3 separate regions of the Homo sapiens genome follow, and all the other regions are linked to region 1. Evidence: promoter capture Hi-C in human tissues and cell types (Jung and others, 2019). All regions are on one chromosome and are shown on one strand. The core of a region is centred on a gene start or on the middle of the fragment in contact, and the rest is flanking DNA. Distances in the headings are between cores, read along the strand shown. Region 1 holds the start of NDNF (neuron derived neurotrophic factor). Region 2 overlaps PRDM5 (PR/SET domain 5). Region 3 overlaps PRDM5 (PR/SET domain 5).

Region 1 (4,590 bases), core at 834-3,333:
AGTGGCACCATCCCTGCCTTAGCGCACCAGCCAGAAAACTGGGAGTCAGTCTAGACTCTCTTCTCTCCATTACCCTCTATGTCCAATCAATCACTAAGCCTTGTCTATTCTATTTCCTAAATATCTCTAGAGCTGTCCTAACCTCCCAAACAGCATTTCTGCTGCCTTGGTTCAGACCTAATTTTTCCTCTGGAAATAACCTCACTGTGATCTCTCTTCTATTTGTCTTGCACAGTGAAACCAGAGGAAACCTTCTAAAACACATTATCTAATAATACTTACAAACCTTAGAATCTGTCCTAGCTTAACACCTTTAACAGTTTCCCAACTACTCACCACCTCCAGGCAAGTTCTGGCTCCTTACACCCAGAGAGCCTTGTGTGGCTTGGCCTTGCTTACTTCACCTGCAGTCTAGCCGCACCTAGTCTCCTAGTTTCCAGGACACACCATGTACTTTGACACTTTCCTAACCTCTTCACTTGCTTCTGTTTGTGGAATGCCCTCCCCCCTCCACCACATCCTTGTTGGCCTTGTATTTCTTCCTTGTCTTTCAGAACTCTACACTGAAATCTCTACCAAGAGAAGCTTCTGAAGGGGAGTTAGCTGTTTCCTTTTCCATGCTTCCACAGGACCAGGTACCTGCACTTATTATAGTGCTAATCACATTTTCATTTATGCCTCTGTCTCCTCACCAGGCGGTGAGTTCCTTAAAGGCAGCACCATCACCTCTAAATCTCAGCACATAAGACATACCTGGTACACAGCAGGGACTTCGTAAGCTTTGTTAATGAATGACCCAGGGATCTGCTCTAGATCGTATCTCCTAAGTGGAGATACAATGAGGACTTTTCTCACCTCATTGTCTCATCTGCAAAAAATATGCTTGCACAGTGATCTGAAATGTCCTTTTCAGTGTTTAAAAATTTTACAAAACTATTTTATGTCGTGTAAACGGTTTTATAAATCCATTTCCTGCAGTGTTTTCATCTAGGAACCACAAAACTTTAGGAGCTGCATTGGTCCACCCTCTGTGACCAACTGTTTAGCAAAAAAGATCATAGTTCTTAATATGACCGGGATAAGGCTGATTTTCATCCTACCTACCTTAATTTCATTGTGGCAATAACAGAACTAGTGTTTTCAATACTGACACTATATCTTAATAAATAATTATATATTATTAGAACTTATATAAAACCAGGTTTGCTGGAAATCAGGTTCTCAGTTGCAAAAATGAGATCACCAAATCATTCGGTACTTTTTTTTTCTTGGTTTTCCTAAGCCCAGGCCAGGTTGCTAATTAGGTAACTTTTTATCATAATTACCTAGTCAGCCTTAATGGCTTCACACACTCTGCTCCGTTTCACTGGTCCTGTAGGGCCGCTTTTTCAATTGTTAAAACAGCTGCTGAGTTTCAAATCGGAGGAGGCTCGGTCTGCGCCGAGGGGGAAGCGCTCCCTGAGTGAAGGCTGTGATAGGCAGGCGTTCGGGTGAAAAGTGGGACATGAATGCACAGTTTGCACACTCTGCTTTCCGCCTCCAACCACCAACCTTCTGGATTTAACACGTCCCCCTCCCTGCCCCCAGATCAACCCCAGAGTTTCCCTCTATTGTGCACCCCGGTCTGCTTGACAGTGTGATGGTCCCGCGTGCGCGTCTCCTGGGTTTTGCAGCTTTGTCGGGGGCTCGGTGGGCCTCCTTCATTCTCCCCGAGTGGCGCTAAGGTTAGGACAGCAGCGTGTCCCTCGCGATGCCGCCCGCGAGGGTCCTGTTTGGGGAGCGCTGGGTCGCTGAGCAGGGTGGTGTGTGTGTGAGAGAAAGAGAGGGAGGGAGGGCTACAGGGAGAGAGAAAAGGAGGGAGAGGGTGTCTGTGTGTGAGTGTGTGTATGTGTATGAGTGTGTGTGTGTGTGTGTGTGTGTGCGTGCGCGCTGGCGCGCAGCGGGAGGGAGAGAAGGAGGGACGGAGGGGGAGGCAACGGGCAGAGGAGGGAGGGGGCGGGCGGGCAGCGGTGAGGCGGGAGGGGTTAGGGCTGGGAGGGGAAGAGACTCCGGGCTTCAGCAGTGACACTCGGGAGCGAACACACACTCCCCACTTCCAGCCGCGAGAGAGTGGAGCTAACTGAGCAGCGCACCCGCCACGGCCGCTGCCGCCCCGTGCGCCCGGCTCTCCCAGCACCCCGCGCGGCGCTCCAGCCAGGCGCCTGTGCGACTAGCGGCGGCCGGCGAAGCCCGCGCCAGCCCCGCGGGTCGCTGCGGCATCCTCCCGCCGCCCAGCCCCCGCACGCTCCCTGCAGTTTAAAAGGACCTCCCGCCGCTTCTCGGCGCTGCCCCGGGATTCCCCAGCCCCGCGCGGCTCCCTACTCCACTTCGCAGCAACTTCGGCGACCGCGCGCCGCCCGCCCTCGCCCGCCTTTGAAGTTTGCTGTGCCGACCGCAAAGTTGGGACACTTCAGCGGATTGAATTTTTCTCTTTTATCTGCCTCCGTCCCCGCCCTCCAGGCTTCTCGTTCCTGGATATTGGTGCTTAGCATCTTGGCAGGGTCCGGGGACGTGGACTATTTCGCACACCACACCACGGGGAGGGATTTTTTTCTATTTTCCCTACGAAAAACAGATCTTTTTAAGGTAAGTGGGGAGAGGAAAGCAATGCCCCAGAGACCCGACGCCTTAGCCCGCCACCCTGAGACCTAGCACAAGGAGCGTTCACGCCCGAAGGGTCATCCGAGATGGGGGCTCGAGGCACGCGCCCCCAAATCTTCAAGGCCCAAGAAGCTTCTCAAGGGCGCCCTATCCGTAGGAGCTGAGGGCATGAGGGGCAGGAGCAGGTTTCCCTCGTTTTTTTTTTTTTATTGTTGTTGTTGTTTGTTTGTTTGTTTGTTTTTAATTTAGCTGCTTTCGAAGCTGGGCGGCCCGGAGAGATGTGAGGAGGTGGACAGACAGCGCAAGGGCGGGGAAGACCTGGGACCCGGGAGCTCGGGGTGCAGTGGGGTCTGGGGAGCCGCGGAGCCTTTATCCCGGACTTAGCCTGGACACTTACTTTGCCCGCCTGCCAAGAGGGCTGTTGCCTCCCTTTCCAGGTTCATGCCCTCCGCCCGCCGCTAGGGAAAGTCTGCGGGACTGGGGTTTTGCAGAGGGCGTCTGCGTGTAGGGCGAAAAGCTAGAGGTCCAGGCAGCGCACGAGTTCTTGGTGGGCGTCTGGGAGCTGCGCAGCCGGGGCCGGGAGTTCGGTTGGCCCGACCCCCAACCGCTCTGGCTCCTCATTTGTCCTCTGCGTGGTAGGCGAGCATCGTTATAGAAACTTCCTTGGGCTGAGCGAGGTGGCCTGGGACCGGCTCATACTTTCTTCCGGAGAGCAGAGCGGCCACCGAGGTGACGCCCCCTACGGCCCCAGCCAGGAGACTCGGCTTCGTGCCCTCGTCCTGTCTGTGCGTGAGTTGGGGTTCGCTCTCACCCGCGCTACCTTTCTAACTGAGCGGAGTCGCCGCGGCCCCGATAACCTAGGAGTCCGAACGAGTGATTGCAGGTCCCAGCTGTTTTCTTGGAGGCACTTTGCAAACTGCTGAATTTGGAGTGCGGTTTCGTTGCATTGTGCGCTCTCGGTTCACCTTTCTGCCCGCACCCTATCCCAGGCCCAGGCGTGAGAGCTCCCGGCAGTTCCCCGGACCCGCCCCGCATCAGCTCCTCGGAGTTTGCCGCGGGCACCTCTACGCTGTCTCTGAGCTGTCCCTCCGGCCAAGTTGCGGTTCCCCTCCTGGCCCCCTTCGGGGCGCTGTCCATTTCTTGCTCTTGGGTACGGGTGGCTCCCTAAAACCAAGACCTTGAGCGGGAAATGAACCTGAGTGTATGTCTGGGTTTTGTTGTTGTTGTTATGTTTTTTCCTTCTTTTCTTTAAATTTATTTACAGAGTTCTTTTTAGCAACTTTGTTGGGTTGATAAATTTGCTTCTCATCTGTCGATCCCGCTAAATCACAAAGAAGAGTTTATTTTTTCATTTAGTTGCTGCTTTCCCCAAACACACTACCCTCTCTTTCCCCCCTCCACCCCTCCTCCTGCTGCCTCGCTTCCTGAACCCTTTTTCTTTTCTGACGGAGGGAATCTCCGCACCTCCTCCTCTCCTCCTCCCACCCGGTCCCTGAGCGCCTGTGAGAACCAGGGGAGTCATCAATGGAAATAAATAGGACTCCGCTCCATTCTCCGCCCCCTTCAAACAAGTAAAATCCTCCCTGGGTTCGGAGAAGTAGAGATAAAACATCCCTCCCAAGGGAGCGGTTGCAGGGGATTTGATGGGATTGAATTGTTTTATTATCTTGAAAGAAGTGATGGATGGATCCGAGAGGGAATATGTATATAAAGCAGAGTGTAGTGAGGGCGATCGGTATGATTATTCATTATTGTTTGTTAAGAGTGATAATAAGGCCGCAACCTTCGCTCAGACTGTGTTTATACTGGGGTTTGAGTTTATGTCAGTCTCTTATTACAGTGGTTTCAGAAAGTGAAAACACCAAAACCGTATTAATTCTTCAGTCATTCTGCATATGGGATTAATCAAATGTCAAAAAAGATACTGTCGTTTTACCACAGTTTTAATCT
Region 2 (4,295 bases), core at 1,581-4,080, 320 kb after region 1:
ATTATGACTTAGAGTCTGGATGGAGGGAGAAGTGAGTAAAAAAGTGTGGGGTTATCTTGGATGGCTCCCAAGTTTTTAATTTGCTAACTAGGTGAATGTGGTACAACTAATCAGGACAGGATTTATAGCATGCATAAGACCAAAGGATAAATACCGCAAATTCAAAACAATGCACACTGATTTAAGCTGTTTGTGAGATACCCAAAGGAGGGTACCTGTTAGACATATGTGTACATGGAGATTGGGGCTCAATAGAGATCTGGAATTCTGATAAGCATGTGTTATCAACTCAGGGTTAAAATAAGATGATCTTTTCCTAGATGTTGCCAAGCCTTTGTCCTACTGACTTGGAAAAGCCACACCTTCCCAGAGTCACGATGATCCTAAGGTCAATAATTCTAGGTCAGCTTACCTAGTGCAAAGGTTGATTTTGTCTCAGAGAAGTTGGTAAGTCTGGATAGCTCATTTAAGGGACCTGTTCCTGTTTGTGTTGTGATTGTTGTTTTTAGTTTATTGCTACTTTGGGTGTTTGTCACCATTTTACAGTGCCTGGTCCAAAGGGAGAATCCTGGGTGCTTCTCCCCAAGGAGGAGAGGCTGGAAAATGTCGCTTGGCAGGGGACACCGCTGCAGGTGCTTCCGTATGATGTCTCTGCTGGAAACAAAGTTGGGGAGAACAGTGCAAGGCCATTGTGCAATGGGGCCAGCCTTGAGATCCAGGAATGTAACTGACAATTTCATGAAGCAGTGTCAGGGACAGGGGAGAGGTCAAGGAAGGCCTTGTTGAAAAGTAGTCACTGGATCAAGCAACAAGGGGCATTGTTGACCCCATGAGAGAGTTGACTGGGATAATGCACATGATATCCAGATTGAATTAAGATCAGAACCAAATGGAACATGAGAGAGTAGAGGAAGAACATACACTGCTAGTCAGAAGGCCTGGCTCTGAAGGGAAGACAAAAGTTTTACATTAGCTGAAGGAAAATATTTTATTATATTGATCTTTGATTGCAGCCAGGGTCTAGCATCCTGCTGTGTAAGTACATTGTTAAATGAAAGAATAAATCAATTAGTGATTTTGAGCTACTGTCCATCCTAAATGATTTGGCTTTGACAAGAGGGCATCTTCAGATCCCTTTTGGAGATTAAATTTTGTCACAGTTTTGTCATTTCACAGTAGAATTTTTTTTGAAATGTGCTGTGTATATGTGTGCTTGTCTTGAAAAACATTTTGGCTGTTTTCAAAATTATAGCCTCTAGGTGAGAGATATTTGATTATATCAGAAAGTATGGATTAATTATTATTTAGTTTAACTACCAATGGTCCTTTTGAACATATACCAATTTTATGAAATTCTTTTGAAACTCACAGCCTTAACTGAGTCAAATTCATTTATATGAAACAAAAAAATTAAACAGAACAAGGTGTCAATGAATCAGTTAAATAATTCCCCTTTAAAGAGTAGTACAGTGATAGAGCAAATTGATTAACATAAAATATTTTTAACAAATTCTTAAAATGAGGAGATTTAATTTGGTCTCAAGTATTAAAAGGAATATGCAGCAAATATGCTACTGGCAAATGTTTATTTTTGAGTATCGGAAGTGCTCTGGGCTCAGTGCCCTCTCCACAGGAGGGGAGGCCACAGTCCACTGCTGTCCTGCACGACCCATGCTTGGATCTGCCCTGCTGTGCCTGGAGCCACTTCTTGAAGTAGCACAGGGCATATGCGGTGGCCAGGATCTGAGTGTGTGAGAAGTGATAGCACAGGACTGGTTCTGCTACTTCATGTTTTTCTGACATGGAGGCTTCCTTTATTTGTAGGTGAGCGTCCCTATCAATGTCCTTACTGTGAAAAAGGATTCAGTAAAAATGATGGACTGAAGATGCACATTCGTACTCACACCAGGGTAAGATTATATTCTGTTTCATTAATATTGATCATGAAAACCATACTTATTTTAAAAGAAATATATTTAACTTTATATTACAAAATAAAGGCAATACACTGGAAGTTGTATATCTATATTTATGACAGATATTTCAGGATAATTTTTTTTAAAGATAAAACAATGAAAGAAAAGAAGAAAAAAAACACAAATTGAAACCTCAAAAAGGTTTTTATTCTTTGAATCAGGACTCAATTTTCAGGAGTTATAAATGATGAACTTCAAGATAAATAGATTTTAAAATTTTAATACTACAATATTTAAAGGTTTTTCTTGCAGAATATTCACCAGTAATAGGAACATTTTTTAATAGAGTCTGCAAGTTTGTCAGCATTTGGCCATTAAGTAATACTGATGAGCAAGTATATTTGCAAGAAAGACATTGCAGATAAATTACCAGGACAGGTGGAAAATAAGGAAGTGTAGCTCAGTGCTTCACAGGGCATGCCTAGTGCTGTGGCTTATTCTTCCCAGGGTGCCCTTTGTTCCTTTGCTGTCAACACTCTCACTGGACTATTGTCATTCTGTTATCTATGCCTTTTCCAGACTCAAGCATCTGTTTCACATGCTTTTAAAAAAATGTAAGCAGCTTACTCACCATCACCCACCATTTCATAGCTCACTATTCGATTTAAGCACAATTAGACACTTTAAATGAACTTTCCACATGGAAATTTTATATTGTTTTAAATAGCTATTGTTGATTTTGCTCTATACAACTTTTCACTGCATTATCTTTCACAGTTTCTTTTCAGTTTGGCCTTTTAAAGTGCGTATGGTCTGTATGTAAATGATGTATTTTTTTTTTCAAATTTTAAGAGACTTATCTAATCCCCTTTAGAACAATTCTAATTTAAACCTCTCCTGGATTTTACTTTTTACCTTAGCTATAAAATAAAAATTTTAGAGAAAACACATAATAATAATATTCTTCCCGGTATAATAATACTGTAGCCTTCCACTTCAGTTCTGCAGCACGTAAAAGCTATCCTCTGTGGTCCCCTTAAGAAAATACTCTTTTTGTCTTTGTGGTGAAGAGAGGGAGCTTCTCCACTTATTAAAGCAAATCTATAGCAGGTTTCTCACTCTAGTTTGTAGTATCATATTCATTCATATTATATGAATATTAGGAATTGGAGTACTTCCTAGATATAAAAGTACTTCATAAACCATAAAGGATTAGACAGATATTCCTGTTTATAATAGTATGATTTAAATGTACAATATCCAAAATATTTCACAATGAGTATTATGAAAGAGGTTTAAATTAGCTTGAGATTAGGAGGTTATTTTACATGTGAGCAGTTGTCACAGATGTATCAATAATGTATTTATTTAAAAGATGCCGACAAAAAGGCAAAGGGGCCCTGGTTCCTCTTAATAGAAACTAGTGATATTGACAGAAATTTACATATGATGTTGTTTTACTTGATTACTGAAGATAGACATGATTACAACACAGAAGAAGCTGTTTAAATCACTGCAGGAAAAAATATCTTTTGGGTTTTCTCAAGAAGGTGAGACATTTCCAATTCAATTAATTTGTTTTTTACTTCATTTTAATATAAAGTTATTAATGAGAATAATACAGATAGTTAAGATGAATAAAAATAAACACAAAAATCACTAATTACATGCCAGTACTCTTTTAGGCCTTCACATTTATTAATTCAGTTAAGCTTCACAACAACTCTATGAGGTAGCTGTTATTATGATTTATTTTTGTAAAACAAGAAACTGAGGCACAAACAAGTAAGTGGCAGAGTTGAGATTTGAACCTAGGGAGACTGGCTACAAAGACCATTTGCATTTTTTTGCCTATTATTTAATTGAATATTTTCTCATTCCACTGTCTCATATATTTTCTGGTATATTTCCACACTAAGCAAATTACAGTAATGACCCCAAATTTAAAAGTCCCATATTCTTTTGAATTTCTGAACCTCGATTTAAGGATCCCAACACTGTCTCCAAAGTATTCAGCTGCAGATGGTCCCTTGTCAGAAGTTTTCTGACATTAACTGCACAAAAAGAAAACAAATTCTAGGCTTTGACTAAGGGAACTCAAGAGAGTTTATAGACCAGAAGCACCCAGGATTTTAGGCAGGATCCCCCACAATGAGTAATGAGTAGAAGATCCAAGGAACAGGGTAAATATGTGTAAGCCTTTTGGGTTTTACCTCAAACTCTTTTTTAATTTTCCTTTTTCATGCATTTTTAAAATATTTTACCCAGACAGTTTTATTTTGAAAATCCTGTTTCCTAAGCATTGAATAAATACAGATAATCTTTGCATATTAGTTCAAATTTTCAAAAGCCTACTAAGGTTATCAGCTAGTACAATCA
Region 3 (4,213 bases), core at 467-2,966, 340 kb after region 1:
AGCCCAGGTGGCTTAGCCTGGGTGCCCTGTGCCAGGCTGGCTGTGCTGCCTGCCGTCTGCCCCGCCCGTGCCCCCTTCCTCCTGGACACTCTGGGCCTCAGCCAGTTTGGACCATGTGTCCTTCTCCTAAGGATGACCATGCTTGCCTAGGTCCACTTCAATACTTTTTGAGGCTACAAATAAAGCAGTCCCTCTCCTGGTCAGGTCTCACTTTTTATACATTCTTCCCTGCCACCTCTGCCATCGGCATACTTTACTGGTACATTAATTATATTAGCCCAGTTTTTTTGTTTTTTTTTTTTTTTACTTTTGTGTCATTGTTTTTCTTCTGTTTCTTTTTTTCTTAGAGCTTAGTTCACGTATTCATTCAGTCTTTCCACAATATAACTGCATGTTGTATGATTTTATCCTCATCCTCATTGGTATTTATATATCTTTTTTGTAAAAATGGAGACTTTCTAAATAGATCTTTATTAACATTATTAACATCGAAAGGACAGTGTGTTTAAAACCTGGTCTCAGCCACCTGGAGTTCTCTGCATACCCAGAAGGGGAGTGGGAAGCTGGCATTGTTGCATTAGATATTCTTACAGTGAAAGAGAACCATGTGTGATGGCAACATTGGAACATGGAAAACAAAGCATCTGGCTCTGCCCCAGGGAGACCAGGTAGGGTCCACTGAGGAAGTCTGAATTGGATCAGAAAGTATGAGTCTGAGTTTTCTAGGAAAAGGAACAAGATTGGGGGTAGGGCATTGCAAACCAACTGAGTGTCGTGTGCAAGGATGTGAAGCTGTGATTTGTGGGTGGGTGAGAAGCCCACTGTAGGAGAGAGCCCAAGGTGTGCGTTGTTGAGAACTGGAGCATGAGGTGGGGGTCAGGCAGGCATGGCAAGACTGTGAGGAGTCCCAGGTGCTGGGACAGGAAGATAGGATTGATTGTGTTGATAACAGTAAGTCAGAACAGGCTTTCATTTGTTTCCCAGTGAGAGAATGGAGTAATAAAATGAACAATAAGACTAGGTGTTCCCTCTTTACTGAAACACAAACCTATGAAATAAAGAAAATATTCAGTCCAAGCAGCTCTGTCTATCCCTTGAACTTACCTATTTTTCTTTCATATCTTTTTTCTTTTATATCACACAAATGGTCTTGTAGGTTGAGACTAGTAAAACTATAACAATTGCTAAGGCTGTAGGTATTTGCTATTACTAGCTAGAACAAAATACAATGCACAACATTTCTAAAATGTCTTCATTATTTGTGACCTATTTTGAGTGCAGTCTAGAGTCACAGAATATCCCAGCTGCAAAGCATATAAGAGGTCAGTTGATCCAACCCCTTTATTTAAAAATGAGGGAATTTAAGTCAAAATATCGTAAAGACTGGGTATAGCTAGTTATAGCAGGAATATTTCTCTCTCTGCAAGCACTTCGATGACATTATCTTTCCTCAAATTCATTTGGTCATGAAATTAAAGGGAAACTGAATAACAGGTTAGGTTAGAGAGCAGGAGTATTATACCATTTTTTAGTTTTTATAGTTTTTTATTTTTAGTAATATGTTATATAAAATTATTACCTGTTTAAAAAATTTTATTGTGAAGTAACCTGTTGTATTGTCCTGAGGTAACAACCTCAGAGATCAGTTATTTTCAAGCAATACATCTGATTTCAAGAGATAAGTTACAATGAATATAAAATTTACTTGTTAGGAATTTATATTGTTATTACTATTGGAATTTGTCTATCTTTTCTGTAAAATTGGAGATCTTGTAAGTGGATCTTTATTAATGTGAAAAGGACAAAGTTTCTGAAAGTGCATAAAACAAATAATATTATCTGATTACTTAATATTAGATGTTAAGAAGTATATTTTAGAATGAGTAACTTTTTATTGATCATTATATACTATGTACTGAGTTAAGTACTTATATTCTAATCAAGAAATCTTCCTAATGATCATATGAACTGTGTATAATATATTCAGTCTTAAGAATAAAACAATAGATAATAGACCCTGCAAATTCTCCCTTTTTTATGTTCAGCTACCAGTCTTTTAGATGACCTCCATATGGTAAAGACTGCAGGAGCTCCTCTTAAGCCACCCAAATGCCTACCCTTATCCTGAGATGGTTCAACATTAATTTGAACACCTCATCAGACACACAGTTCCTTAACTATCTTAGCTATAGGAACCATTACAACTTCTGTCACCTACTCACAGAATTATACCCTTAATATTTTCAACCAGCTTGGTGTCAGAAATTCCTTGCCTTGCTAATCACAGAGACCCAGCCATGTCTCTTAAACATGAAGGGGTTTATTTATAAGTGTGCAGAAGTAGGCATTCCAGGGATAGTTTGACACTTCCACAAAGTCATCCAGGCATGTGGCTTCCATTGTCAAGGTTCCAGTGTGACTCAAGATGGATTTTGCCACTCTGGCCATCACATCCTCATTCCAGGCAACAGGAAGGAGGAGGCAAGAGAAGGTAACAGGATACGCCCCTGCTGATTACACTTCCACTAAGGAGCTTTCTGGAAGTCCTACCCACCAACTTCCACATGACCACACTTGGCGGTGAGGAATTCCGGAATTATCATCTTTTCTTAAGCTTGTTGCCACACTAAATAGAATTACTTTCTGTTACTAAAAACAAGGGAATAAATATAAAGCAGATTTTTCTCCAGTCTCATTTGCCAGCCCAAAATTATACCATTCTTTTTCTAGACTTTTGTTAGTTTTATTGCTTTAACTGACATCTCCTTCTCTGCTGTACTGCCTGGCCTCTTACCCATAAGTAAATTTTTGTAAAAAAAAAAAAAAAAAAGAAGACCTCTGTTTAATTGAAATTGCCTCCTCCATCATTTTCTGACCATCTCATCTCATAGCCGGGTGAGGGACCCCTTCTCTGTGCTATCATCACTTGTTGTACATTGCACTGCACTGAGCTCTTTTGGTGTCACTTTCTCCCTCAAATTACACCTGTAAAAATCTCTTGCTCATGGTGGGCGGAACTTCAGGGTCTAGCTGACTGCCTAGCACACGGTGGGAAATTGTTAGGTTGTTTGCTGAACTGACTGTAAAGTGTCATAGTCAATATTCAAGTGTAAATAGCAGGGCTTTAGGTGAGTACTGTTTTAGTCCCTGTCTCTTTATTTCTCACAGCTGCTGCAAGGGAAACTCTTAAGGGCTTTTGTATCTTATCTGCACCTCTTTTTTTAAGGGCCTGGGCAGAGTGGTGTCAGAGAACAACTTCGTCTCTCTGGCTTGGGCAGCCCCATTTGTAACAATAATACAGTAGAGTTGTTTCAGGAATGTCTACTAAACTCCTTTATGAACTTGGTATATCCACAAAGAGTGTGTGTACAGCAGATTGCAGATTTAGCTAAAATAAACCTCTATAAATATTTAGCATTGAAGCTGATTGTTGCTTCACCACCACTGTATTATCTTTAGACTTTAATAATATACTTCAGGATTTAAAAGAAAGTACATGCTGTCTGAAATATATATATAAAGAGAGTTTTTCTTTGTTTTAAAGATAGGCAATATGCAATTAATTTTTAAAAGAAATGAGGCCATTATTCTTAGAAAAGTAATACAGTATTTCCAAACTATTTTCTTTCTGGAACAGAAATTTATGTTCATCTTGTTCTCTATTCAGAGAATTTTAATTACTAAGGTATCACAGGTATCTTGGGATAAAGACTTATCTGTATGAAGATCCCATTAATGGATTTCAAGAACTATGCTATGTTGAGATTCCTAAATAATTTTATTTCTACATAAAGTTACCCAGTTATATTTACATGATTCATGTGCCTTTTTCAATTTTGGGTAACATTATATTTATATGCATATTGCAACGGTGAAGAGAAGAAAGGTTAATATAATACGTAAAATATCCTTATTGTGTTCATATTATGTGCCAACCATTAAGATAAGCAAAATGCTATGACATAGATATAATATTCCATGTTACAGAAGAGGGAAGTGAGGCTTAGAGAGCTTAAGTAGCTTGTCCAAATTCCAGGTAGTCATTACTACAATGACTATTAATAGGCAGCCCAAGACTGGAAATTAGCTTATCTTAAAAACCGTATTCTTCATTCCTAGATATGCAGCCATCAAGATGTTCTAAAGTATTATGTTCCGTATTGAATGAACTAATCTTTTAGAAAAATCATAAGAAAACTGGTATCAATTTCCC

The links. Contacts are between HindIII fragments. The study calls those that stand out against the background at their distance.
Region 2: a contact is called between a fragment that was not itself captured here and the fragment with the promoter of NDNF in region 1, in 1 of the 25 tissues and cell types used here (IMR-90 fibroblasts).
Region 3: a fragment that was not itself captured here is called in contact with the fragment with the promoter of NDNF in region 1 in 1 of the 25 tissues and cell types used here (heart right ventricle).

What each region holds. Positions count from the first base shown.
Region 1 is chr4:121,070,028-121,074,617 of GRCh38, reverse strand. It overlaps NDNF (neuron derived neurotrophic factor), which reads left to right and starts at 2,083. Exons shown (of 4, transcript NM_024574.4): 1 at 2,083-2,625. It overlaps NDNF-AS1 (NDNF antisense RNA 1), which reads right to left and starts at 3,256. Exons shown (of 3, transcript NR_187407.1): 1 at 3,038-3,256; 2 at 754-868. The HindIII fragment of the contact is 5,612 bases long and covers 1-4,588 here.
Region 2 is chr4:120,752,168-120,756,462 of GRCh38, reverse strand. PRDM5 (PR/SET domain 5) reads left to right here. Exons shown (of 16, transcript NM_018699.4): 14 at 1,825-1,910. Among named protein-coding and RNA genes, the nearest start is that of PRDM5, 170 kb to the left of the region's middle. The HindIII fragment of the contact is 7,591 bases long and covers 1-4,295 here.
Region 3 is chr4:120,729,985-120,734,197 of GRCh38, reverse strand. All of the region lies in intron 14 of PRDM5 (PR/SET domain 5), which reads left to right. Among named protein-coding and RNA genes, the nearest start is that of PRDM5, 190 kb to the left of the region's middle. RefSeq lists a silencer at 1-130. The HindIII fragment of the contact is 5,804 bases long and covers 1-4,213 here.